Regions from separate parts of the Homo sapiens genome. Here region 1 is linked to region 2. The links are contacts of gene promoters, found by promoter capture Hi-C in human tissues and cell types (Jung and others, 2019). All regions are on one chromosome and are shown on one strand. Each heading gives the region's core, a stretch centred on a gene start or on the middle of the fragment in contact. The rest is flanking DNA. Distances are from core to core; before and after follow the strand shown. Region 1 has its middle 8.5 kb from the start of DPPA3. Region 2 holds the start of NANOGNB (NANOG neighbor homeobox).

What was found. The method cuts DNA at HindIII sites, captures the fragments that hold promoters and counts their contacts. A contact is called where the count stands out against the background at its distance.
Region 1: a contact is called between a fragment that was not itself captured here and the fragment with the promoter of NANOGNB in region 2, in 2 of the 25 tissues and cell types used here (psoas muscle and stomach).

The regions. Positions count from the first base shown.
Region 1 is chr12:7,718,487-7,721,374 of GRCh38, forward strand. No RefSeq gene overlaps it. Among named protein-coding and RNA genes, the nearest start is that of DPPA3, 8.5 kb to the left of the region's middle. The HindIII fragment of the contact is 6,179 bases long and covers 1-2,888 here.
Region 2 is chr12:7,763,788-7,766,492 of GRCh38, forward strand. NANOGNB (NANOG neighbor homeobox) reads left to right here and starts at 1,429. Exons shown (of 4, transcript NM_001145465.1): 1 at 1,429-1,600. The coding sequence starts at 1,499. RefSeq lists an enhancer at 2,540-2,705. The HindIII fragment of the contact is 16,312 bases long and covers 1-2,082 here.

The DNA.
Region 1 (2,888 bases), core at 133-2,632, 45 kb before region 2:
AGCAGGGTGAACCACCCTTAAGGAGTGTGAAACTGTCCAGGAGCCCTCAGAACTCCTTTTGTGTTTTTAGGGAAGCTTCATTAGGTAGGCATGATTGATTACATCACTGGCCATTGGTTTATCAACTCAACCTTCAGCCCCTGTCCCTTCCCCTGGAGGTCCCGGAATGGGAGTGAAACTTTCAACCCTCCAATCACTTGGTGGTTTCTCCTGGCAACCTGCCCACATCCTGAGGGTATCTTGGAGCCCCCAGCAAAGCAGTCACCATTAGCATACAAAAGTTATCACTCCAGAGATTTTGAAGATTTTAGGAGCTATATGACAGGAAATGGTGACTAAGAACAAATATGTTTTATAATATCACAGGGAGAATTGGAAAGGATATCTGCATGATATGTAATAACCCAAGAAGATGCTATCCAGTGATTTCTTTGTGGTTTTTGTTTTGTTTTTTGAGATGGGGTCTCACTTTGTTGCCCAGGCTGGAGTGCAGGACCACACTGCCAAGTTTGGTCATCAGAAGTTACCCCACTGAAGAACTAAATTTAACATGGTCTACCAGCAAGGACAAATGTGGGGCAGATTGAGCATTGGTTATATTTCTTTTTTTTTTTTTTTTTTTTTTTTTTTGAGATGGAGTTTCACTCTTGTTGCCCAGGCCGGAGGGCAGTGGCGCAATATCAGCTCACTGCAACCTCTGCCTCCCATATTCAAGCAATTCTCCTGCCTCAGCTTCCTGAGTAGCTGGGATTACAGGCATGTGCCACCACACCCAGATAATTTTGTATTTTTTAGTACAGATAGGGTCTAACCATGTTGGTGGTATCGAACTCCTGACCTCAGATGATCTACCCACTTCAGCCTCCCAAAGTGCTGGGATTACAGGCATGAGCCACTGTGCCCGGCAGAGCATTTGTTATAACTTACAAATCGTTCCTAGTAGCAAAGCTAACTTTTATTATTTTTCTGTATGAGCTTGAAAATCACTGACTAGTTAAAAAAGGCAACTTATTTTTATTGCAATCATGTTAAATTTGTAAATTAATGAAAACATTAATTCTACATGTCACATGTCCTTTCGTATTCTTTTGAGATGCAGTCTCGCTCTGTCACCAATGCTGAAGTGCAGTGGTGCCATCTCTGCTCACTGCAACCTCCACCTCCCAGGTTCAAGCGATCCTCCTGCCTCAGACTCCCAAGTAGCTGGGACTACAGGCGTGTGCCACCACGCCCAGCTAATTTTTGTATTTTTAGTAGAGACAGGGTTTCACCATGTTAGCCAGACTGGTCTCGAACTCCTGACCTCAGGCAATCTGCCTGCCTTGGCCTCCCAAAGTACTGGGATTATAGGCATGAGACACCGCGCCTGGCTAGTATTTAGGTATATTTTTAAACCTTTCTATAATAATATCTTCCTTTCATGTATTTCCTGCTGAGAGCATCAGTTCAAGTTGCCCTGAATCTTTATGCTCCCAGTTTACATTTATTGAGTGCTAGGCATTATTCTAAGGATTTTACGTGCATTAGCTTATTTAAACCTCAAAACTTCTGAGATAGGTCACTTTCGGTGTCTTCATTTTACAGAAAAAAAAAAGCACAAAAGTAGTGAACTTGCTCAAAGTTACATAAGAAGTGGCTTATCCGAGATGGAAGTCAGCTAAGCCAAGTCGGTACTTTCTTCTTTTTTTTTTTTTGAGATGGAGTTTTGCTCTTGTAGCCCAGGCTGTAATGCAATGGTGCAATCTCGGCTCACTGCAACCTCCGCCTCTTGGGTTCAAGCAATTCTCCTGACCTCTCCCCGTGTCGGCTTCCCAAAGTGCTGGGATTACAGGCGTAAGCCACTGCGCCTGGCCCAAGTCGTACTTTCTACAGATATCTTCCTCTTCAGATTATATTATGGTGTGTTAAAATATTGCCATTACATTTTTCAACTGGTTGTAATATATGAAAGTTGTTTTTTTTCTATATTTACTTATTTGAGCCAGGGTCTCTCTCAGTTGCCCAGGCTGGGAGTGTAGTGAGGCTTGGCTCACTGCAAACTCCACCTCCCGGGCTGAAGCAATCCTCCCACCTCAGCCTTCTGAGTAGCTAGAACTACAGGCATGAGCCACAATGCCCGGCTAATTTTTTGTATTGTTTGAGGAGACAGAGTTTCACCGTGTTGCCCAGGCTAACGCTGTTAATTTCTCTATTTGCTGTTCACTCAACATTTTTTGTTTTACTTTAAACTTTTTTTAAAAAAATTTCAAACTACATAAAGTTGCAAGCTTAAGCTCATAAACCTGTGTGTACATTTTACCTAGATACAACAATTGTTAGCATTAGCCACATTTCATTTAACATTCTATATTTTCTCTTTTTAAACAGATATTTGAGAGTAAATTTCAGATAACACTTCATCCCAAAATAGTTTGTGTTTTCTTAGAACAAGAATATTGACTTATATAACCACAGTAGAAGGATAAAATTCAAGAAATTTATGGCCAGATGTGGTGACTCATGCCTATAATCTCAGCACTTTTGGTGGCTGAGCCCAGAGATTTGCTTGAGGCCAAGAGTTCGAGACTAGCCTGGCAACATAGTGAGATCCTAGTCTCTACAAACAAAAAATAAATTAGTCAGGTGTAGTGTTGGGGGCCGGGGGGAAGATGTGGAAGGGATAGGAAGCGGGAAAGGGGTAGGAAGGGATAGGAAGGGAGGAAATGGGCTAGAGGACCCCAGGGGTTCAAAAGGCAACTTATTTATTTATTTATTTATTTATTTTGAGGCAGAGTTTCGCTCTTGTAGCCCAGGCTGTAGTGCAATGGTGCAATCTCGGCTCGCTGCAACCTCCGCCTCCTGGGTTCAAGCAATTCTCCTGCCTCAGCCTCCCGAGTAGCTGGGATTAC
Region 2 (2,705 bases), core at 179-2,678:
AAGTGGTTAACAAGTGGTTTCTTCTACCAGAGTGTGAGGCTGGTTGTGTGACCAGGTAAGAGTATAGTCGGAGGCCAGGCACGATGGTTCATGCCTATGATCCCAGTACTTTGGGAGGCCAAGGCAGGCAGATCGCTTGAGGTCAGGAATTCCAAACCAGCCTGGCCAACATGGAGAAACCCTCATCTCTCCTAAAAATACAAAAAATTAGCTGGGCATAGTGGCACTTGGTTGTAATCCCAGCTACTTGGAGCTGAGGTAGGAGAATCACTTGAAACTGGGAGGTGGAGGTTGCAGTGAGCCGAGATCACACAAGTGCACTCCAGCCTGGTGACAGAGTAAGACTCTGTCTCAAAAATAAATAAATAAATAAATAAATAAATAAATAAATAAATAAATAAAATGGGCTGGGCAGCGGTGGCTCACACCTGTAATCCCAGCACTTTGGGAGGCCAAGGCAGGAAGATCACCTCATGTCAGGAATTCGAGGCCAGCCTGGCCAACATGGTGAAACCCTGTCTCCACTAAAAATACAAAAATTACCCGGGCGTGGTGGCAGGTGCCTGTAATCCCAGCTACTCGGGAAGCTGAGGCAGGAGAATCGCTTGAACCTGGGAGGCGGAGGTTGCAGTGAGCCAAGATTGCACCATTGCACTCCAGCCTGGGGGACAAGAAAGGAGACTTCGTCTCAAAAATTAAAATAATAATAATAATAATAATAATAATAATAATAATAATAATGGAATCAGGGGTCTCACCGTGATGCCCAAGCTGTTCTTGAACTCCTGAGCTCAAACAATTCTTCTGCCTTGGCCTTCCAAAATACTAGGATTACAGATGTGAGACACCTCACCCGACCAAGTAGCATTTTCATAAAATATTTATGTATTTATTTATTTTTAACATGGAGTCTCACTGTCTGTCCCCGAATGGAGTGCAGTGGCAGTATCTTGGCTCACTGCAACCTCTGCCTCTTAGGTTCAAGCGATTCTCCTGCCTCAGCCTCCAAGTAGCTGGGATCACAAGCACGTACTTCTACACAAGCTAAGTTTTGTATTTTTAGTAGAGATGGAGTTTTACCATGTTGGTCAGGCTGGTCTTGAACTTCTGATCTTAAATGATCTGCCCGCCTTGACCTCCCAAAGTGCTAGGATTACAGGCATGAGCCACCACGCCCAGCCCTACATTTTTTTTTTCCTGTCTCTCCACTGTATTTTGGAAAGCATTTTCTTATCAGTATATCTCACTATTTGGGACACTCTGCAACATGTAAATTGAACATTTTTCATATGGCTATTTGAAAAGTTTTTTTTCTTCATGGCTCCAAAAATAGATGTCAGGAAATGTGTTCTTTTTGTGGAATTCCTTTTGTGAATTGCCACTGGGTGCTCATATTTGTGGCCCACTGACATCCAAAAGATGGATGACATCTACCTTATCTGGTCGGTCATCTCTGTAACCTCCCTACCAAGGACTAATTGGTCTTTAAAACTCCTCAATGCACCGGGCGCGGTGGCTCACGCCTGTAATCCCAGCACTTTGGGAGGCCGAGGCGGGCAGATCACGAGGTCAGGAAATCGAGACCATCTTGGCTAACAAGGTAAAACCCCGTTTCTACTAAAAATACAAAAAATTAGCTGGGCGTGGTGGCGGGCGCCTGTAGTCCTAGCTACTCTGGAGGCTGAGGCGGGAGAATGGCGTGAACCCGGGAGGCGGAGCTTGCAGTGAGCCGAGATCGCGCCACTGCACTCCAGCCTGGGCGACAGAGTGAGACTCCGTCTCAAAAAAAAAAAAAAAAAAAAGAAGTGGCAGTTGTCTGGATATATTTTAAAGAAAGAAAAGCAAGACTTTCTGACAGATTGAGTTGAGCTATGAGAAAGGGAAGAAGTGAAAGACAGCACCAAGCTTTTTGACTCAAACCACTGGGCAGATGGAGTTGGCTTTACTAAGATAGAGAGGCCTGAGTGGGTCAGCGTTCAGTGAAGGGAGCCATAAACTGAGTTTGGGAATTTTAAGTTCAATTCACATAACTTATTAGACATCCAAGCAGAGATATTGAATTGGGAGTTTGACATAGAAGACTGGAAATAAAAATTTGAAAATAATCTCCCTTTTGGGCAGTATTAAAAACCATGAGATTAGATGACCTGGATTAGAGCTACATGTAAAGGAGATAAGAGGTGAAGGGATTTAACCTTGAGTGTGATTGAAAAAGCACAGGGACAGAAATCAGTAGGGGAAAGAGGAGCAACAAAGAAAGCTTTGAAAGAGCAGCCATTGACTTGAGGAAGCCCCAGGAAAGGATGGTGTTCAGGAAGTGGGAGAATAAACTCTTTCAATGTGGAGAGAGATCCCGATACTTCAGAAGCCCCTGATCATTCAAGTAAGTAAGATGGGGACAGGCCAGGCACAGTGGCTCACACCTCAAATCCCAGCACTTTGGGAGGCCAAGCGGGGCAGATCGCTTGAGCTCAGGAGTTGAAGACCATCCTGGCCAAGATGATGAAACCCCCCATCTCCACCAAAAATACAACAATTAGCCGGGCTTGGTGAGGCACGCCTGTAGTCCCAGCTACTCAGGAGGCTGAGGCAAGAGAATCCTTCGAGCCCAGAAGGCAGAGGTTGTGGTGAGCTGAGATCCAGCCACTGCACTCCAGTCTGGGCTTCAGAGTGAGACTCCGTCTCAACAAAACAAAACAGCAAAC